Linked DNA regions of Homo sapiens: regions 1, 2, 3, 4, 6 and 7 are each linked to region 5. The links are contacts of gene promoters, found by promoter capture Hi-C in blood cells and fetal thymus (Javierre and others, 2016). All regions are on one chromosome and are shown on one strand. The core of a region is centred on a gene start or on the middle of the fragment in contact, and the rest is flanking DNA. Distances in the headings are between cores, read along the strand shown. Region 1 holds the start of CMTM7 (CKLF like MARVEL transmembrane domain containing 7). Region 2 has its middle 3.9 kb from the start of TMPPE. Region 3 has its middle 4.0 kb from the start of UBP1. Region 4 overlaps RPL14 (ribosomal protein L14). Region 5 holds the start of EPM2AIP1 (EPM2A interacting protein 1). Region 6 overlaps UBP1 (upstream binding protein 1). Region 7 overlaps UBP1 (upstream binding protein 1).

Region 1 (3,164 bases), core at 528-3,027, 4.6 Mb before region 5:
TTTTGGTAGTCCCGTTTGGGCCTGTCTTCATTTTTATGTTTTTTTCCTTTTCTTTTTCTTTTTCTTTTTTTAAGAGACAGTGTCTCACTCTGTCACCCAGACAAGAGTGCGGTGGCAAGATCATAGCTCACTGCAATCTCGGACTCCTGGCCTCCAGGGATCTTCATGCCTTGACTTCCCAAAGTGCTGGGATTATAGGTGTGAGCCACCACGCCTGGCCTCTTCATTTTTAAAACAACCCAAAAGGGATACAGAATAGAATGTCACTTGGATAGCTGTTTGACAGCTTTTTCTTTTTCTTGTCTTTTTTTTTTTTTTTAATTGAGACAAGGTCTTGCTCTGTGGCCCAGGCTGGAGTGCAATGCCACTGTCATGGCTCACTGCAGCCTCAACCTCCTGGGCTCCAAGGCTCCTCCAGACTCAGCCTCCTGAACAGGCATGTGCCACTGCACCCAGCTAATTTATTTATTTATTTATTTTTATTTTTATTTTTATTTTGAGACAGAGTCTCGCTCTGTCGCCCAGGCTCGAATGCAGTGGCGCAAGCTCTGCTCACTGCAAGCTCCGCCTCCCGGGTTCACGCCATTCTCAGCATCCCGAGTAGCTGTGACTGCAGGCGCCCGCCACCACGCCCAGCTAATTTTTTGTATTTTTAGTAGAGACGGGGTTTCACCGTGTTAGCCAGAATGGTCTCGATCTCCTGACCTCGTGATCCGCCCGCCTCGGCCTCCCAAAGTGCTGGAATTACAGGCGTGAGCCACCGCGCCCGGCCCAGCTAATTTATTTTTATTTTTTGTTTTTTGTAGAAATGAGGTCTGGCCATGTTCCCCAGGCTGACAGCTTCTAACAGAAGCAAACATATGCTCCCCTTGTAACCAGTGCGTTCACTTGCAGATATTTGTCCCAGAGAAATGAGAGTTTGTATCCACCAAAAAAACGTGTACCATAATAGTGACTATAGCCAGAAAAGAGATGAGGGAGGGGGGAAAGGCCGGAAGGAGGGAAGGAGGCAGGCAAGCAGGTAGGAAGGAAGCAAGCTTGGTGTCCATCAACTGGGTAAACGTTTAAAAAATACGGTATCTTTGCACAGTGGAGTACTACTCAGCAATAAAAAGGAAGGAACTGATATGAACTACTTATATTCCCAACAGGATGGATCTTCTAATTTGTTATGTTGAAGGAGAATATTCTGTATTACTTCAAGTTTATGAAGTCCAAGAACAGGCAAAATGAACCTACAGTGACAGAAAGCAGAATACACTGTAGTGGTTGCCTGAGGCTGGATAAGGATGGGGCCAGGGAAGGAAGGTAGGTCAGGAAGGCCCACCACGGAACTTTCTGGGGTGATGGGCACGTTCTATTTGTTGATCTGGGCGACGGTTACACAGGTGTACACATATATAAAAATTAGTGGAGCTGAACACGTAAGGTCTGGGCATCACACTTTATGTAAGTTAAACTTCAGTAAAGTGCTCTCAGCACACATCCGCAGCCGCACCCACACAAAATCCCAGGAGGCTCAGTACCAGCTGTGGTCCGGGCCTTGCCCACCTCGGAGAGGCCACGACCCAAGGCATCCGGTTTCCTCTCGCTCCAGTCTAACTTCCGCGCATCTACGAGGGCCGGGACTGCCGCTACCTTTCTGGAAGGCGCCGGCCGGCCAGTCACCGGAGGGATCCCGCCAGAGGCGGCTCCGCGTCTCCAGCAGCGGGGCAGGGACCCGGGCGCCCCGCCCTCGCCAGCGCCCGCCCCCGCCCGCCCCCGGCCCGCCCTCTGTATCTGGCCCCTGGGCAGCTGCCCGGGGAGGCGGCCAGCGAGCTGGGGCCGCGCAATGTCGCACGGAGCCGGGCTCGTCCGCACCACGTGCAGCAGCGGCAGCGCGCTCGGACCCGGGGCCGGCGCGGCCCAGCCCAGCGCGAGCCCCTTGGAGGGGCTGCTGGACCTCAGCTACCCCCGCACCCACGCGGCCCTGCTGAAAGTGGCGCAAATGGTAAGTGAGCGCGGGGCGCGAGGCCGAGGTTCTACAGGGCGTCCCGGGAAAGCAGGGGTCCGGGAGCGGACGCGCCGGGCGTCTGGACCCGGCCGGAGCCCAGGGAGCATCGCGCAGCGGGCGGGGCACCGCGTCGCTAAAGTTCGCGGCAGGCTTCCTCCGGGAAAGTTGCTGCCGCAGCCCCCGCGCTGGAGCTCAGTCCCCAGAGCCGCCCCGGCCCTTGCTCCCGCGGACCCAGGTCGCCAGGGTCGCAAGTTTCTCCGGCCACCCCCCTGCGAAGCCTGACCCGCCTACTGACTGAAACCACGGGCAAAGTTCCTTTTCGTCTTTCTTCCTCTTCTCTGGGCCGCGCCGCTTCGAACCCGAGCCGGGGGTGGAAGAGTCGCCCAGGCGGCGGCGCTGAGGGAGCGAAACCCGACCTCTTCCCCGTCCACGGCCTCCTCTTTCCTCCGAACCCAGCGCGGCAGGGCTTCCCTGCTCTGTGTGCAGTTTCGCTCGAAGGAGGAGGTCAGAGGGTCTTGTGTTCCATAGTGGGGAAAAAGAACTGGGACCGTTGAGACGGCCGTCCTGGTCCCCTGCGCCCTCAAGTTCCGAGGGAGGGCCCGGGTCTCAGGGGGCTCTGGAGGGCAGGGGGTCAGTTGGGAAAGGCCTGTTGTCAGGGGCTGGTACTCATGTAGGGGAGCCAGACTGTTGAATGGGAGTCACCCGTGGAGCCAGGCAGGATGAGTGTCTGGGCTTGGATTGTGACCAACTCAGCACAAGGGCCTCCTACCAGGGCAGACGTTGCCTGGCCGATTCTCTTGTTCCCCACTCTTTTCTTTTCTCCCCTCCCGTTTTTTTCTTCTTTAAAAGTTTGTAATCTGAAACAACTTTTCCGTTTGTATGATGTGTTTTGAAACTGGGTTGGGCTGTTTGTGAGTCTCCACCATTGTAATGTTTGCACCAAGAACGGTGGGGAGGGGAGCGGTAAGTTTCAAAAAGAGGTGTGGGGAAAGGAGTGTGGGGCTGGACAAGGTCACACACCCAGAAGCTGGGGCCTGCTAAGGTGGCCTGGCCCCAGGGGGTTGGGCACAGGACGTCTGTGCATCTATAGCACTGCCATTCCAGACACTGAGTGTGCATGAGGTGGCCCTCATGTCTTGCTTGGGCCAGACCTAAAGAGAAGGGGCGCTGA
Region 2 (2,796 bases), core at 295-2,794, 3.9 Mb before region 5:
AGGATCAAATCTGGCCTGCTGCCTGTTTTTCTTTTTCTTTTTAAAATTCTTTTTACTAAGAATCGGCACAATTTGCTGCCAGTTTTTCTATGGCCTGCCACCTAAAAATGGTTTTTACATTTTTAAATGAATGAAAAAAAATCAAAAGAATAATATTTTATGACATTTGAAAATGTTGTAAGTTTCCTGTGTCAGTGTCCATAAATAAAGTTTTGTGGGGTTGGTTTTTGTTTTTTTTGTTTTGTTTTGTTTTTTTAGACACAGTCTTGCTCTGTCACCCAGGCTGGAGTGCAGTGGTGCAATCATAGCTCACAGCAGCCTTGAACTCCTGAGCTGAAGCAGTCGTCCCATGTCGGCCTCCTGAGTAGCTAAGTAGCTGGGACTACAGGCGAGTGCCACCATGCCTGAATAATTTTTTTTTTTCTAAAGACAAGATCTTGCCTTGTTGCCAGGGTTGGTCTTGAACTCCTGGCCTCAAGTAATCTGCCCACTTTGGCTGCCAAAGTGCCAAGATTACACATAAATAGTTTTCTTAGAACACAGCCACCTATAATCCTCTGCATATTGCATATGGTTGCTTTCACGCTACAACGGTAGAATGGAGTAGTTGCAACACAGATCTTAGGACCTACAAAACTGAATATATTTATGTTCTAGCCCTTTACAGTATAAGCTTGCCAAAGGAATATAGATTGTAGATTGTTTCTGAGATTTTTAGTATTTGACTATGTTTGTAGTTGAAATGGCAATAGTAGTAATAGCCATTGTTGTGCTGAATGCTTTACCAGTATGTGTCACTATTCCTCCCAATCCGAGCTGCATGCTCTTATCCACATTTCACAGATGAGAAAGCTGAGACCCAGAGGAGTTAAATGACTTGCCAGTAGCCACAGAGCTGGGGAGCAGTAGAGTCTCTAAAGTTACATTGCCTGACGTTAGGGCCTGAGTTATTTTCACAAGGCTATGCTTCTGCTCATAGTGTACTGTTTGGTTCCCATTTAAATGCACAGACAGAGTGTGCTGGATGCAAAGCCCCCTGCATACTGGAGAATATGAAGGGACCATGAGAAGGCTGTCACCCTGCAGGCACTCATCTCTAAACATGGTACATGCTCTAATATAGACTAATACTTCTCAGAGTCTGATCCTTAGACCAGTGCTGTGCAATAAGTACAGAAATTCAGCCTAGGCACTTAGAAACTTGCAGCAATTTGAGAAAGTAAGTCTATCTGTTGAATCTAATAATGAACAAAATCATTACGCATCTATTTTTATTTCATTGTTCTAGTAATGTTTTATTTTTATTTTTTTAGACAGAGTTTCGCTTTTATTGCCCAGGCTGGAGTGCAATGGCACGATCTTGGCTCACTGCAACCTCTGCCTCCTGGATTCAAGCGATTCTCCTGCCTCAGCCTCCTGAGTAGCTGGGATTACAGGCATGTGCCACCATGCCCCGCTACTTTTATATTTTCAGTAGAGATGGGGTTTCTCCATGTTGGTCAGGCTGGTCTCAAACTCCTGACCTCAGGTGATCCACCTGCCTCGGCCTCCCAAAGTGCTGGGATTACAGGCGTGAGCCACCACGCCTGGCCTCTAGTAGTTTTTGTTTGTTTGTTTTTGAGACAGAGTTTCACTTTGTCGCCCAGACTGGAGCGCAGTGGCATGATCTTGGCTCACTGCAACCTCCACCTCCTGGGTTCTCGCAATTAAACCTCGGCCTCCTGAGTAGCTGGGACTACAGGCTCACACCACCATGCCAGGCTGATTTTTTCGTATTTTAGTAGAGATGGGGTTTCACCATGTTGCCCAGGCTGGTCTTGAGCTCCTGAGCTCAGGCAATCCACCCCCCTCAGCCTCCCAAAGTGCTAGGATAACAGGTGTGAGCCACCACACCCGGCCTATTTTTCTAATAATTTATTTTTATTGAATTTTTATGAAAGGATCAATCCTTGATAGGCAGGAAAGAGCACTAATAATTAAAAAAAAAAAAAAAAAGTCCGGCCGCGGTGGCTCACACTTGTAATCCCAGCACTTTGGGAGACTGAGGCGGGGGGATCATGAGGTCAGGAGATGGAGACCATCCTGGCTAACATGGTGAAACCCCGTCTCTACTAAAAATACAAAAAATTAGCCGGGCGTGGTGGCGGGCGCCTGTAGTCCCAACTACTCGGGAGGCTGAGGCAGGAGAATGGCGTGGAACCCGGGAGGCGGAGCTTGCAGTGAGGTGAGATTGCGCCACTGCACTCCAGCCTGGGCGACAGAGCGAGAATCTGTCTCAAAAACAAAACAAAACAAAACAAACAAACAAAAAAACACAACTCATCCTTTACCAAAAATAGTTTGAGAAGCACAGAGGCCTCATCAGTAGCATAAGAACAATGAGAGGGAGAAAAACGTGTGGCCCCAAAACATAGGAAAGCTTTGTTTTTCTGTTCTAACAGGGCTCTACACACAAGTTAATCATCAAACTCAGTTTCTTTGATCTGTTTTCCCTTATGGAGTTTTCCTACTCAGCAAATTTTCATTCCCAGTGTCAGTTCTGACCTGCATTTCAATAAAAAATTTTATGTAACCTACCTTCCTTCCTTTCTTCCCTCCTTCCTTCCTTCCCTCCTTCTTTTCTTTTTCTTTCTTTCCTTCTTTCTTTTCTTTTTCTTTCTTTCTTTCCTTCTTTCTTTTCTTTTTCTTTCTCTCTCTCTCTCTTCTCTCTCCCTTTCTTTCTTCTTTCTTTCTCTCTCTTTCTTTCTCTTTTCTCTCTCTCTCTCTTTTCTTTCTTGTCTCACTTTGTTGCCCAGG
Region 3 (2,746 bases), core at 167-2,666, 3.5 Mb before region 5:
AAAATTTTTTTAATTAGCCAGACATGGTGACCTGCACCTGTGGTCCCAGCTACTCCAGAGGCTGAGGTGGGAGGATCACTTGAGACCAGGAGGTCAAGGCTTGCAGTGAGCCATGATAATGCCACTCTAGCCTGGGTGACAGATGAGACCCTGTCTGGAAAAAAAATAGAAGTATCAAGCAGCGCTAAATAGTAATGTCATAAAGAGACCAAAATATAAAAGAAGGATAGTGTTAAAAGAAAACTTTAGACAAATTAAATATAAGAGTTTAATTTTGCAAAAAAAAGATTTGTCAATCAGGTAGCCACCCCGAACCAGAATATGTTCAGAGAGACTCCAACACTGTTGCATGGTGGAAGAAGATTTATGGACAGAAAAAGGACAGTGATGTACGGAAAACAGAAGTGAGATATAAAAACAGCTTGATTGGTTGAGTGTATTATTTGAACAGTTGGCCTCCTGTAATTAGCCAAAACTCAGCGATTGTTATAATAGGTTATAGACCATTTATACATCCAGTTAGGTTACAATTTACTGTGTACAGAGAAACCTTTAGGCTGAACTTATAAGGAGGCAACTTTAGGCTAAACTCAATTTAACAATTTCTCCCCTTTTGTTCAACCTCTCAACTTGACCAAAATAGAGAGGTTGACCAAAATCCTAGACATTGACATTACTTTCTGACCATTGTAAATGTACTTATCTGGTCGCAAATCCCATTGGGAAATAGTACAACAGTGGGTTTTGTAAGGTGCGAATAAGGACTTTAGGTTATTTTCTGGTAAGCGTTAGAGTAGAGGATACTTTTTTTTTATTATGTTGGAATTTTTATTTATTTAAATTTTATGGACATTTTATGGATGATTGTATGTAAACATTTAAAACTTTTGAAAGTCCTTAGTGCACATAGGAGACTACTATTAAGATTACCAAGAGGATAATACCAAGACTTTGGAGTATGCCCCTTAGCCAGGGTCAACATGAACTAAACTAACTAAAATCAAATAGATCAAAGAAAGAGCTAGATAAAAGATCAAGCTGTTTTAACCAAGCAGCTTGTTTATTAATCCCCTGTAACTGAATCTCTATAATACCTGATATGTTCATCTCTGTGCAACAAGAAGTGTGAGCAACTGCAGATACTTCTCTGTATCTGCATACAGAGATACATACTTCTCTGTATGCAGATACAGAGAAGTATCTGCATACAGAGATACATACTTCTCTGTATCTCAGTAAGTAATATACAGCAATTCCGTTATCTAGCACAACTTTAGCAAGAGAACTTAAAGTCTGTTGTGCCATGGCCTTTGCAGTAGAGTCAGCTATAGAGTCTACTATGAGGGATAAATTTCCTTTTTCTTTCTTTTTTTTTTTTTTACTTGTTGAGACGGAGTCTTGCTCTGTCACCCAGGCTGGAGTGCAGTGGAGCGATCTCGGCTCACTGCAAGCTCCACCTACCGGGTTCATGCCTTTCTCCTGCCTCAACCTCCCGAGTAGCTGGGACTACAGGTGCCCGCCAGCACACCCAGCTAATTTTTTTCTGTTTTTAGTAGAGACGGGGTTTCACCATGTTAGCCAGGATGGTCTCGATCTTCTGACCTTGTGATCCGCCCACCTCAGCCTCCCAAAGTGCTGGGATTACAGGCGTGAGCCATCATGCCCGGCCTTTTTTTTTTTTGAGATGGAGTTTTGCTCTTGTTGCCCAAGCTGGAGTGCAATGGTGTAATCTTGGCTCACTGCAACCTCTGCCTTCCAGGTTCAAGTGATTCTCCTGCCTCAGCCTCCTGAGTTTTTGGGATTACAGGCACCCGCCACCATGCCCAGCTAATTTTTTGTATATTTTTTTTCAGTAGAGATGGGGTTTCACCATGTTGGCCAGGCTGGTCTTGAACTCCTGACCTCAGGAGATCCACCCACCTCGGCCTCCCAAAGTGCTGGGATTACAGGTGTGAGCCACCGCGCCCGGCCATGAGGGATAAATTTCTTTTTTTTTCCTTTTTTTTTTTTTGAGAGAGTCTCACTCTGTTGCCAGGCGGGAGTGCAGTGGCACAATCTCGGCTCACTGCAACCTCCACCTCCTGGGTTCAAGTGATTCTCCTGCCTCAGCCTCCTGAGTAGCTGGGATTACAGACGTGCACCTCTATGCCCAGGTTTTTTTGTTTTTTTGTGTGTGTGTGTGTTTTTAGTAGAGACAGGGTTTTACCATTTTGGCCAGGCTGGTCTCGAACTCCTAACCATGTGATCCACACGCCTCAGCCTCCCAAAGTGTTGGATTACAGGTGTGAGCCACCATGCCTGGCCATGAGGGATAAATTTCTAATCATTGCTTCATTTATTCTAAATTATGGAAAAAGAGACAATAAATGATGTCTGTATCTACAAGACTGAAGGCCTCCTGGCAATGTTTTTTTTTAAATTTATGATATTGGTTAAGAGGAGTGGACTAAAGTTTTTGACTGATTATGAGGTAATAAAGGTATTAACATCAGTTATCTATATTGGGGTTTTTTAATTGTTTAATTTTTTTTTTTTGAGACAGAGTCTTGCTCTGTTGCCAGGCTGGAGTGCAGTGGTGCGATCTCGGCTCACTGCAACCTCCTCCTCCTGGGTTCAAGTGATGCCCCTGCCTCAGCCTCCTGAGTAGCTGGGACTATAGGTGCCCGCCATCATGCCTGGTTAATTTTTTTGTATTTTAGTAGAGACGGGGTTTCACCATATTGGCCAGAATGGTCTCGACCTCCTA
Region 4 (3,017 bases), core at 518-3,017, 3.5 Mb after region 5:
AGAGAGCCGTGATCATGCCACTGCACTCCAGCCTGGATGACAGAGTGAGACCCTGTCTCAAAAATAAATAAATAAAATAAATGCCTTGAGGTCACTTTTCTATCCTGGTAGTTTAGGGCTTTGCCTTTGTTTAGATTTGCCATCTTCTTTTCTTCTGGTTTCTGCCAAATTTTTAGCTTAAAGTAAACAACAATACTAAGTCTTGTGTTTATTGCTACTAGCTATCATTAGATAAGCTCTCAGTGTGTGTCAGTTACACAGTATTTAATATAAGAGGTTTTATCCCTAGCTTACATTTAAGTGAGGCAGTGAATAGCAGTTCTTTTTTGACATGAAAATTAAAACACTTTAGTGTGTTGCTATACAGTTAATTCAACCCACAATGATGGTTGCAGTGGAACATGTAATTTTGCATGCTTTAAAAAATAGTCAAAAACTTGCTGTATGTTGGCCGGGCGCGGTGGCTCACGCCTATAATCCCAGCACTTTGGAAGGCCGAGGCGGGTGGATCACGAGGTCAGGAGATGGAGACCGTCCTGGCTAACACGGTGAAACCCCGTCTCTACTAAAAATACAAAAAAAAAATATTCCGGGCATGGTGGCGGACACCTGTAGTCCCAGCTACTTCAGAGGCTGAGGCAGGAGAATGGCGTGAGCCCGGGAGGCGGAGCTTGCAGTGAGCCGAGATCGCAACACTGCACTCCAGCCTGGGTGACAGAGCGAGACTCCGTTTCAAAAAAAAAAAAAAAAAAAAAACTTACTGTATGCTGAGCACTACAGGCACTGTGGGACGTGTATTAACACATAATGGATTTTGAAGTACTGGTAGTTGAAAACATGCCACTTGAACAACCTCGAGTGAACATAGCCATGCTGCTACTACTGTGACATACCAATTAGGGGTGAAGCTTGAGGATACTTGTCAAAGTTCAAAGCAGTAGAAAATACTTGGTAACTTAGATTTTTCACTAGGTACTCTTGTAATTCTGCCTTGGATCCCTGGACACCCTGGATTTTATTTTTAGGATGTTTGGCCACAAATTGTTACTGTAAATTTTTTTTTAAAAAAAAGCCTAACAGTTAATATTAATTACCTTGTTTGTTACGAGAATGAATGGCTCGGATGTGTGCAGTGGCTCATACCTGTAATCTCAGCACTCTGGGAGGCCAAGGCAGGTAGATAACTTGAGGTCAGGAATTTGAGACCAGCCTAGCCAACCCCGTCTCCACTAAAAGTCCAAAAATTAGCCCAGTGTGGTAGTGTACTCCTGTAGCCCCAGCTATTTGGGTGGATGGAACAGAAGAATTGCTAGAACCTAGGAAGCAGAGGTCACAGTGAGCCAACGTTGCGCCAGTGCATTCTCCATCCTGGGTTACAGAGCAAGACCCTGTCTCAAAAAAAGAAAAAAAAAAAGAATGGTTTTCAACACGTCCACTGCCCGAGTGGAATTATATATAGTCAGAGGTGGGTTTTTTGTGTTTTTTTTGAGGGTTTTTTTTTTCTTTTGACACGGAGTCTCACTTTGTCACCCAGGCTAGAGTGCAGTGACGCAATCTTGACTCACTGCAACCTCAGGCTCCCAAGTAGCTGGGATTATAGGCACCTGCAACCACGCCCAGCTAATTTTTGTGTTTTTAGTAGAGATGGGGTTTCACTATGTTGGCCAACCTGGTCTTGAACTCCTGACCTCAGGTGATCCACCCATCTTGACCTCCCAAAGTGCTGGGATTACAGGTGTGAGCCACTGCGCCTGGTCAAGAGGTAGTTTTTAAATTCATAAAATGGGCTGGGCTGGGTGCAGTGGCTCATACCTGTAATCCCAGCACTTCAGGAGGCCAAGGTGGAGGGTTGCTTGAGCCCAGGAGTTGGAGACCAGCCTGGGCAACGTAGCAAGACCCTGTCTCTACAAAAAATATAAAAATTAGCTGGGTGTGCTGGTATGCACCTGTAGTCCCAGCTACTTGGGAGGCTGAGGCAGGAGGATGGCTTGAGCCTAGAAGGTTGAGGCTACAGTGAGCCATGATCATACTATTGCATTCCAGCCTGGGTGGCAAGCAAGATCCTCTCTCAAAAAAAAAAAGGGACTGGATTACAGTTTTGATTAAAATATGCTTGAAGTTAATAACCTATTCTGGCTTACTGAACACAAAAATAAGTAAAATACATAGTGTACCAGGTGTTGTGTAACAGGAAGAGTGCTTTTCAAGGAACAAAGAAAGTGTCTTTGATAATGAGTGACTTCAAAGCTGATTTCTTAATCTGTGGTCTTGGCTCGTTCTAGTGCCCACCAGAAGTATGTCCGACAAGCCTGGCAGAAGGCAGACATCAATACAAAATGGGCAGCCACACGATGGGCCAAGAAGATTGAAGCCAGAGAAAGGGTAATAACTTAGGGTCATTTGAATTCTGGTCCTTTCTTTTTTTGGAGGGTTCAAGATAGTGTGAGAGGGATAATTTTTATTTGTTGTTTTTTTTTTAACAGAAAGCCAAGATGACAGATTTTGATCGTTTTAAAGTTATGAAGGCAAAGAAAATGGTAAGATTTAAGATCTGTATTTTTGTGTAACTTAGCTTTAAATAATAAGGGAGCAGTAGCCAAATCCCATTTCAGGCTGCCAGCTTCTTGGAAGCTTTCTGTAAAAAAGGAGAATTTATCTTCATTTGTATTTCATGATGTCCCTATGGAATTGTTACCTTTCTTCAGATGTAGTTGTAGGGAAACAGACTACTTAATGCCCTTTCTAAAACCAGCATAAATTGGATTTTATTGTATGTATACACAATAAGTGCTTTCTTACATTGATAATTTTCAGAGGAACAGAATAATCAAGAATGAAGTTAAGAAGCTTCAAAAGGCAGCTCTCCTGAAAGCTTCTCCCAAAAAAGCACCTGGTACTAAGGGTACTGCTGCTGCTGCTGCTGCTGCTGCTGCTGCTAAAGTTCCAGCAAAAAAGATCACCGCCGCGAGTAAAAAGGCTCCAGCCCAGAAGGTTCCTGCCCAGAAAGCCACAGGCCA
Region 5 (3,039 bases), core at 184-2,683:
ATACCTATCAGGATCAAATATTTTTTCATCTTCCTTATTTTGCTGTTTTAGCTCATCAACAACTTCTCTGAGGGCAGGAAAGTCTGTTAGATTTTTTTCCTCAATATGTCTTTGAAATAAATTCAGCTTAACTTCGAAAGTACAAATATGGTCAAAGGCAGCAGCAGCAAAGACTTTACTAACTCGTAATTCTTCACTGAGTTCTCGAAGGTGTTCCATAATGTCCACCAAGAAGCCAAAGTCACAAAGCCATTGTTTGTCTGAGAAGTGGACTGTTGTTGCCCCTACTGAAACCAAGAACGCTTCCATTTCTTTTCTTAGAGAGAATATTAGTTTTAAAGTTTTCCCTCTCCTAAGCCAATTGTTCAGACATCGTCCATTAACCCTTTCACCATGCTCTGATTCAGATTCCGTTAGTAAAGTCTGAAATTCAGGTCGCCTAACGCCTCTGGTCTTAATCAAAACTATCCATTCGGATATGGTATTTATGATCTGATTAACATCTACATCATAGGAGCTCAACAGTTCCAAGTGAAGAAATCCTGAATAATGAATGACATTCCAACAGTTGGGGCTTACGGCCTTTTCTCTCATGTATGAGACGAGTCCTGAGTTCTCACCAATCATCCTCAAAGTATGGGTCGTGGTCAGTCCAACCATTCTCTGCAAGCTAAGCCCTGCTGTCTGCAGGGACTCTAGGATTGCCGACATGAGCGCACCAACACTGAAATGATGAGTCAGGTTGATTATGGTCAGAAGATCTTCTTGCACCTCCAACTCAGGGCCTACACCGCGGATAAAGACCAGGAGGTAGTTCTCATAGGCCACAAAAGCCTGGTCGTCCAAGGCAAGAGAATAGGCTTTAAAGTCCCTGGCTCGGTTAAAAAGCTGGTTGCGTAGATTCCTGTCAATGCTCAGGATCCTCTGCCTTGTGATATCTGGAGATAAGTCAACGCCTTGCAGGACGCTTACATGCTCGGGCAGTACCTCTCTCAGCAACACCTCCATGCACTGGTATACAAAGTCCCCCTCACCCCAGCCGCGACCCTTCAAGGCCAAGAGGCGGCAGAGCCCGAGGCCTGCACGAGCAGCTCTCTCTTCAGGAGTGAAGGAGGCCACGGGCAAGTCGCCCTGACGCAGACGCTCCACCAGGGCCGCGCGCTCGCCGTCCGCCACATACCGCTCGTAGTATTCGTGCTCAGCCTCGTAGTGGCGCCTGACGTCGCGTTCGCGGGTAGCTACGATGAGGCGGCGACAGACCAGGCACAGGGCCCCATCGCCCTCCGGAGGCTCCACCACCAAATAACGCTGGGTCCACTCGGGCCGGAAAACTAGAGCCTCGTCGACTTCCATCTTGCTTCTTTTGGGCGTCATCCACATTCTGCGGGAGGCCACAAGAGCAGGGCCAACGTTAGAAAGGCCGCAAGGGGAGAGGAGGAGCCTGAGAAGCGCCAAGCACCTCCTCCGCTCTGCGCCAGATCACCTCAGCAGAGGCACACAAGCCCGGTTCCGGCATCTCTGCTCCTATTGGCTGGATATTTCGTATTCCCCGAGCTCCTAAAAACGAACCAATAGGAAGAGCGGACAGCGATCTCTAACGCGCAAGCGCATATCCTTCTAGGTAGCGGGCAGTAGCCGCTTCAGGGAGGGACGAAGAGACCCAGCAACCCACAGAGTTGAGAAATTTGACTGGCATTCAAGCTGTCCAATCAATAGCTGCCGCTGAAGGGTGGGGCTGGATGGCGTAAGCTACAGCTGAAGGAAGAACGTGAGCACGAGGCACTGAGGTGATTGGCTGAAGGCACTTCCGTTGAGCATCTAGACGTTTCCTTGGCTCTTCTGGCGCCAAAATGTCGTTCGTGGCAGGGGTTATTCGGCGGCTGGACGAGACAGTGGTGAACCGCATCGCGGCGGGGGAAGTTATCCAGCGGCCAGCTAATGCTATCAAAGAGATGATTGAGAACTGGTACGGAGGGAGTCGAGCCGGGCTCACTTAAGGGCTACGACTTAACGGGCCGCGTCACTCAATGGCGCGGACACGCCTCTTTGCCCGGGCAGAGGCATGTACAGCGCATGCCCACAACGGCGGAGGCCGCCGGGTTCCCTGACGTGCCAGTCAGGCCTTCTCCTTTTCCGCAGACCGTGTGTTTCTTTACCGCTCTCCCCCGAGACCTTTTAAGGGTTGTTTGGAGTGTAAGTGGAGGAATATACGTAGTGTTGTCTTAATGGTACCGTTAACTAAGTAAGGAAGCCACTTAATTTAAAATTATGTATGCAGAACATGCGAAGTTAAAAGATGTATAAAAGCTTAAGATGGGGAGAAAAACCTTTTTTCAGAGGGTACTGTGTTACTGTTTTCTTGCTTTTCATTCATTCCAGAAATCATCTGTTCACATCCAAAGGCACAATTCATTTTGAGTTTCTTTCAAAACAAATCGTTTGTAGTTTTAGGACAGGCTGATGCACTTTGGGCTTGACTTCTGATTACCCTATTGTTAAATTAGTGACCCCTCTTAGTGTTTTCCTGTCCTTTATTTCGGAGGACGCACTTCGAAGATACCAGATTTTATGGGTCATCCTTGGATTTTGAAGCTTATAACTGTGACAAAAAATGTGAAGGGAAGAGATTTGAAACATGTGGAAGGAAAAGTGAGTGCAGACTATAAACTTCCAAAAAGACAAGCCCAAAATACACCTAAACGTTATGTCAGATTATTTTGTTAAAATCAGTTGTTAGTGACGTCCGTACGTTAATAGAAAAAAGAATGCTTCAGTTTGGAGTGGTAGGTTTCTAGAGGGATTTATTGTGAAAGTATAAACTATTCAGGGCAATGGGACTGAGAGAACAGTGGGTAGAAAGGACCACTGAAGGAAAGGAAGAGAATTGGAAGGTAGATGAAAGAAGGAGCAAGAACCTGGGGATGTTTTTTCCTTTTCACTTGTAATAGTAGTAACAGAAGCAATGGCAGACTGGCTTTTGTTTCTACTGTGTTAGAATGAATTGACAGGACAACTGGGCCTATTATTGTACTGTGCCAG
Region 6 (2,970 bases), core at 208-2,707, 3.6 Mb before region 5:
TTCTCCCCTCAAAAAGAAATCCCATACCCATTAGTAGTCACTCACCATACTATCCCAGACCCACTCAGCCCCTGGCACCCACTGATTTGTTTTCTATCTCTACGGATTTGCTATTTGGGACATTTAAATGGAATCATATGACTATGTGGTCTTTTGTGACTGGCTTCTTTCACTTAGCATGTTTCATGGACCATCCGTGTTCTAACATGTACCAATGCTTCATTCTTTTTAATGGCTCCATTCCATTGTATAGGCATACCGTATTCTGTATCCATTCAGATGATGGCCATCTGGGTGGTTTCCATTTTTTAGCAATTATGAATCATGCTGCTATGAACACTTTTCTATGTTTTTGTGTAGATAAATTCTGCTAAGTATACACCTGGAACTGGAATTACTGGATCACATGGTAACTCTGTTTAACTTTATTTTACTTATTTTATTGGAGACAAAGTCTCACTTTGTCACCCAGGCTGGAGTGCAGTGGTGGTATCTTGGCTCACCACAACCTCTGACTCCTGGGCTCAAGTCATTCTCATGCTTCCGCCTCCCAAGTAGCTGGGATTAGAGGCATGTGCCACCACACCCAGGTAATTGTATTTTTAGTAGAGACAGGGTTTCGCCATGTAGGCCAGACTAGTCTCAAACTCCTGGCCTCAAGTGATCCGCCCGCCTCAGCCTCCCAAAGTGCTGGGATTATAGGCGTGAGCCATCACGCCCCGCCTCTGTTTAACTTTCTGAGCAACTGCCAAGCTGTTTTTCAAAGTGGTTGCAATAATTTTACATTTCCCCTATTAATGTATGGAAGGTGATTATTTGTTTTTGAGATAATTATCTGAGCTGTACGTTTGTATCTTAACTTTTCTATACTCATTCTTCAATAAAAAGTAAAATGATAATAACAGCAACAACAAAACATCAAATGAATAACTACTGTATCAACACCAATAATAGGGACTTGTCTGAACTGCTTATTTTCTCTTTTTTTCCTACAAGCTGTTCACTAAGATACTTGGGTAGCCAGGTCAATTCAATTCAATTCAAAAACAGAATGTGAAAACAAGTGAAATGGGACGGAAACCCTGGGAGAGAACGTTATCCCACCAGTAGTCCCTACTCCCCCCATGCATTTCTATTAAAGCACTGTGCTGATTTTCAAAGATACTAACTATCCACTAATTCTCCCTCTCTTATTTATACCCAGGAATTGTCAAAACACTCCTACGTACACAAGTAATAACCAAGGATCACACGGTTAGCAATGGTCCCAACACTCCCACAGAGTTCTCTCAACACCTTGACCTAGGGATTTTGCCCCACCTAAGCTCCTGCCTTGGGGGCAGATATAAAAACTTTTCAGAAGACTTCAGGCCAGGAGCAGTGACTCACACCTATAATTCCAGCACTTTGGAAGGCTGAGGTGGGTGATCACCTGAGGTCAGGAGTTCGAGACATGGCGGGGGAAACCCCGTCTCTACTAAAAATACAAAAATTAGCTGGGCGTAGTGGGGCACGCCTGTAGTCCCAGCTACTTGGAAGGCTGAGGCAAGAGAATTGCCTGAACCTGGGAGTCGGAGGTTGCAGTGAGCTGAGATCGTGACACTGCACTCCAGCCTCAGTGACAGAGCGAGATTCCATCTCAAAAAAAAAAAAAAAAAAAAAAGAATCAGATCACCTCTTTATAAAAATCAGTCATAACAGTCAAATTGGCTCCAGGGAAGATAAAAATATATACTGCATTTTGTGTATATGTAAGCATTTAAAACCCTCTCAGAGAGAAAGAAAACAAGAATGAGAGTTGTGACTCAGAACCATTAATTATACCGAAAAATAACACAGGGAATAATTTTAACATTTCAATGCTAACTGCTTGGGTTGATCATTAGATACAGATCATCAAAATAAGATGTATAACTGCATGAGAATGGCTTTTTTTAATAAATTGTCACATATGGAAGACAATTTTATATGCTTCAGATCCTAGAAGACAACCACTTTTTTATTCACTTGGTTATAGTCTCCATGATCCACACAGAAAATACTATGCTCATGGTAAGTGCTAAACGACTCCTGAACAAACATATAAACATGTAAAGATTATTTGCTATTGAATTTCCAATTAATTTTTTACTTAATTAGAAAGAAAATGCCTTCCAGTCAACACAGCAACCAGTGATCCTTTTCAAACAGAAGTTAAACCATTTCAATTCTCTGAATCCTTACATCAGCTCACTTTCAACCAAAGTCCTTACGAAATCCTACGTCTCAAAAAAAAAAAAAAAAAAGCCCTACGCAACCTGCTCTTCAACCCCTCTTCTCGTCACCCTCATTCCCCCTGCTCCAACTACCCCGGCCTCCTGATTCTACTCTTCTACTGGATATCCTAATGGCTCATTTCATTCAAATGTCATCTTTTCAGTGACAACATGACACTGGAGTCCTCCCACCCACACTCCCAATTTCCCTACCCTAGCTCTATACACAGCTCTTACCACTTTCCAAAAATATACATGACTTACTAACTTTGTATCTGCTATAAGCACGTAACTCCAAATACGTGTTTCTTCAATGACTGATGCCAGCATCTAGCACAAAGGAGCTCAAATACTTGCTAAATCAATGAACTGATTGCTGCATTAATAATCAACCAATTAGTATTAAGATTGAAAACTAGGTCTCCAGACAAGATTATAATTTCTACTATGTTGAAAGTCCTAAAACCTTGATGGTTTTTGTAATCCCATAAATGGAAACAGACTTTTGAGTACTAAAGACAGAATGTTAAACGGAACTAAAAGTAGGGTGTTTCTTTATTTTTTTTTTTTTAAGACAGGGTCTGGCTCTGTCTCCCAGGCTGGAGTGCAGTGGCATGATCATGGCTCACTACAGCCTCAACCTCCCACCTCAACCTCCCAAGTAGCTAGTATTACAGGCTTGTACCACCATGCCTGGCTAATGTTTGTATTTTTA
Region 7 (2,956 bases), core at 355-2,854, 3.6 Mb before region 5:
CAAGACCCTTTTCAGTTACACAAAAATAATAGCTAATTTACTAAAGAAAGTATTTTCAATTAATTTCAGTGCTCTTGAAGGAGGTGTGTGTGTGAAGGAGAGAGGGAGGGAAGGAGGAAGGGAAGGAGTCAGGGAGGGAATACATATCTCTGAGTGTCTTTTTTTCCCTCCAAAACCACCCAATATGGTCAACATTGTTTTTTGCTTTGTTTTAAAGTGTTAGATTTAGGAAATTTTCCTCAGTGAGGAACAAACAGAAGCAGGAAGTCTAAACAAAAGCAAATTAAATCAAGACATGGACATCAAAAACAATTTTGGCTTTACTTTGCGGTGGAAGTTGGTCCTATATCTAACACTGCACAAGGTTTCTTGCACAATGAAAAGAGAAGCAGAAGTCCCTTACACTGCCTCGCTTTGCCAGAGAATCACCGTAGTCTGCTGGCAAAGTCCGCTTGCTGGACTTTTTCTGCTCATGTTCAACTGCATCTTCAATTATAGGCTCAAGCCTCATCTGGACAAACACCAAAGATTGGGATCAATGTCTTTTCATTATACAAAGAAAGATCTAACACCCTGTTTCATGTCTCTTCAGTCCAATTAAACAAATGCATGACTAACAGGATTCAAAGTTAAAAAAAATGCAAAACCCCAGCAGTGACAAAAATTGGACTTTCTAGGCTCCAACTTAAGTCTCTTGCCAACTTCAAAGTTTTTAAGGTCTGTTTCTAAGACCTCATTGGGATTTCAGCATCTTCATTTAAGATCCCACCCAGGAAACAGTCTATCAAAATCCCCAAATTTAAATATTTTCCCCAGAAATTTCACAGAGAATAACATGTCAAACTGCCACCCAATCTTCCCCAACCCTTTTGTAGCAGAACTCATCTTAGAAATAGACTAATATGCAACCTTTGCTTCTCTTCCAAAACCAAATGCTTTACTACATTACCTCTGTGAGGATTGTGGTATCATAGGACGGCTGATACTTTTCTTTTTCATGAGCTGTTCTCTTCTCCATCTTCTCTCGGTCAGTTTTTTGTTTCCTGTCTGCACCTTTAGGCTTAAAAACAAAGTATACTATTTCATCTATCAGGCTGCAGACACACAGCTTTACAGGCAAAACTGAGCCTTAATTACAGAAAACCCGGGTTCTCTGTCTTACCTTAAAAACTTTGATTTGGCAGCTAGCTGAGTGTAGATGATCTGTGTATTCTCCATTTTCATTCTGCTTAAAGGTGTCAACCTGGATCCTAAAGGGCACTCCCTTTTCACCTCCGTGCTTCCGTGGAGTAAATTCTGTGCTGATGCAGTGTACCTATAAAACGATTCAGGCTGAAATGGATTCAAAGAACTTCCACTGGTTATTTTTCTATTTTGTTCCCTCTTGAGTGACCTGACACCACTATAAATTCAAGATCCTTTAAAATAAACTCATCACACATATTAGCCAAATTATCTATGAACCTAATTGTTTTTAAGATATGGCTTCCCTCTCACAAATCCAACTGAGCCTCTCCAGACTTTCTGAGCTCTTGCCCATCACAGTGCCTCTCCTCTAATGCAGGACTTGGGTCCAATCAGGGGTACAACACTACAGTAGCTTCCTATGTATACTGCCCACCTCCACCTTGGACTGTCTGCTCATCTCAGACCCAGGGTACTAAGCCCTGTTCAATCCACAGCAATCTTCACTTCATTGTTTAGAGCTTCTGTTGTTTGCCCTCTACTGCCATTACCCCTATTCTACCCAGCCAACTATCTTACTGCTGTTCCTACAGATGCCAATTTGTGATACTTTGCCTGGGGAAATTTTACAGTCCAGAAAACCCACTACCCATCCTATTCTGTATCCATCTAAACTCTTTGGTCAACTCTTCAAAGTCCATTCAGGATCCAGAGGGCAATACTCATCTTCCACCACTCCTGCCCTGTCTCCTAATACCCACCCTGGATGACAGCCTTAGGGTTTCACACAGAGTTAACAGCAAGACCTTGGTCATTTCTGACTGCTGCACATCCCCCTCTTCTAATGACTCACTATTAAAACTGATCTCTGCAATATGACAACACAACCTGATATGTAAAGCCAGGTCTTGTATCACTTTGATTTACTACATAACTAGTTGCCTTATAGACAAACACCAACAGTATGAGTTTACATCAATATTCAACGGATATAAACCATGCCCCCAGGGATTAACTGATGGAGAATAATATTGGTAGAATACCAAAATGCAAAATACAAATGATTTTTTACAGTTCATGCAAAGCATAGCTTATGAAGGCTGGTCAGCAAGTAAGTGGTTTTCCTTTTCTATATATTACCTACCTGGTAGTTTAAATTCCACCACATACAAATTTGAACATTGTGGGTATTAGAATCACTATTTTTTTTAAACACAGAATAATGATATTATAGTTACTTTTTAAAACTCATCTCTTAGAGACATGATATTTATGGATGAAATGGTATGCCTGAAACTTGCTTTAAAGTACTCTAACAGGCTGGGCACAGTGGCTCACACCTGTAATCCCAGCACTTTAGGAGGACAAGGCAGGTAGATCACTTGAGGTCAGGAGCTCAAGACCAGTCTGGCCAATATGGTGAAACCCCCATCTCTACTAAAAATACAAAAATCAGCCAGGCATTGTGGTGCACACCTGTAATCCCAGCTACTCAGGAGGCTGAGAGATGAGAAGAGCTTGAATCTGGGAGGCGGAGATTGCAGTGAGCCGAGATCATGCCACTGTATTCCAGCCTGGGTGACAGAATGAAACTCCATCTCAAAAAAAAAAAAAAAAAAGTGCTCCAAGAATAACTAAAAGGGGGCGGAAACTACTAAAAACTGCTAAAGCCAGGTGATGGTTACATGGACAATTAGTCATCATTATTATCCTATTTGTAGAGGTTTGAATTTTTCAGTATTAGAATGTTTTAAAAATAATGCTAGAAGGA

The links. The method cuts DNA at HindIII sites, captures the fragments that hold promoters and counts their contacts. A CHiCAGO score of 5 or more calls a contact.
Region 1: a contact is called between the fragment with the promoter of CMTM7 here and the fragment with the promoter of EPM2AIP1 in region 5, in 1 of 17 cell types (M0 macrophages). The highest score is 7.7, in M0 macrophages.
Region 2: a contact is called between a fragment that was not itself captured here and the fragment with the promoter of EPM2AIP1 in region 5, in 1 of 17 cell types (total B cells). The highest score is 5.7, in total B cells.
Region 3: a fragment that was not itself captured here is called in contact with the fragment with the promoter of EPM2AIP1 in region 5 in 3 of 17 cell types (non-activated CD4 T cells, activated CD4 T cells and total CD8 T cells); the score reaches 8.2 in non-activated CD4 T cells.
Region 4: a contact is called between a fragment that was not itself captured here and the fragment with the promoter of EPM2AIP1 in region 5, in 1 of 17 cell types (non-activated CD4 T cells). The highest score is 6.1, in non-activated CD4 T cells.
Region 6: a contact is called between a fragment that was not itself captured here and the fragment with the promoter of EPM2AIP1 in region 5, in 1 of 17 cell types (M1 macrophages). The highest score is 5.2, in M1 macrophages.
Region 7: a contact is called between a fragment that was not itself captured here and the fragment with the promoter of EPM2AIP1 in region 5, in 3 of 17 cell types (activated CD4 T cells, naive CD8 T cells and total CD4 T cells). The highest score is 8.1, in activated CD4 T cells.

What each region holds. Positions count from the first base shown.
Region 1 is chr3:32,390,076-32,393,239 of GRCh38, forward strand. It overlaps CMTM7 (CKLF like MARVEL transmembrane domain containing 7), which reads left to right and starts at 1,778. Exons shown (of 5, transcript NM_138410.4): 1 at 1,778-1,990. The coding sequence starts at 1,832. The HindIII fragment of the contact is 6,143 bases long and covers 1,036-3,164 here.
Region 2 is chr3:33,099,604-33,102,399 of GRCh38, forward strand. No RefSeq gene overlaps it. Among named protein-coding and RNA genes, the nearest start is that of TMPPE, 3.9 kb to the left of the region's middle. The HindIII fragment of the contact is 1,746 bases long and covers 672-2,417 here.
Region 3 is chr3:33,443,075-33,445,820 of GRCh38, forward strand. No RefSeq gene overlaps it. Among named protein-coding and RNA genes, the nearest start is that of UBP1, 4.0 kb to the left of the region's middle. The HindIII fragment of the contact is 4,305 bases long and covers 1-2,746 here.
Region 4 is chr3:40,459,125-40,462,141 of GRCh38, forward strand. RPL14 (ribosomal protein L14) reads left to right here. Exons shown (of 6, transcript NM_001034996.3): 4 at 2,283-2,382; 5 at 2,484-2,537; 6 at 2,815-3,017. Among named protein-coding and RNA genes, the nearest start is that of RPL14, 3.3 kb to the left of the region's middle. RefSeq lists a silencer at 1-8. The HindIII fragment of the contact is 1,723 bases long and covers 907-2,629 here.
Region 5 is chr3:36,991,698-36,994,736 of GRCh38, forward strand. It overlaps EPM2AIP1 (EPM2A interacting protein 1), which reads right to left and starts at 1,434. Exons shown (of 1, transcript NM_014805.4): 1 at 1-1,434. The coding sequence starts at 1,380. It overlaps MLH1 (mutL homolog 1), which reads left to right and starts at 1,821. Exons shown (of 19, transcript NM_000249.4): 1 at 1,821-1,966. The coding sequence starts at 1,851. RefSeq lists enhancers at 605-684, 715-1,034, 1,155-1,504, 1,875-2,094, 2,011-2,522. The HindIII fragment of the contact is 4,668 bases long and covers 1-2,305 here.
Region 6 is chr3:33,426,541-33,429,510 of GRCh38, forward strand. All of the region lies in intron 1 of UBP1 (upstream binding protein 1), which reads right to left. Among named protein-coding and RNA genes, the nearest start is that of UBP1, 12 kb to the right of the region's middle. RefSeq lists an enhancer at 1-112. The HindIII fragment of the contact is 3,479 bases long and covers 1-2,970 here.
Region 7 is chr3:33,408,287-33,411,242 of GRCh38, forward strand. UBP1 (upstream binding protein 1) reads right to left here. Exons shown (of 16, transcript NM_014517.5): 6 at 1,163-1,315; 7 at 950-1,060; 8 at 404-511. It also overlaps a transcript of FBXL2 not described here. Among named protein-coding and RNA genes, the nearest start is that of UBP1, 31 kb to the right of the region's middle. The HindIII fragment of the contact is 3,325 bases long and covers 1-2,956 here.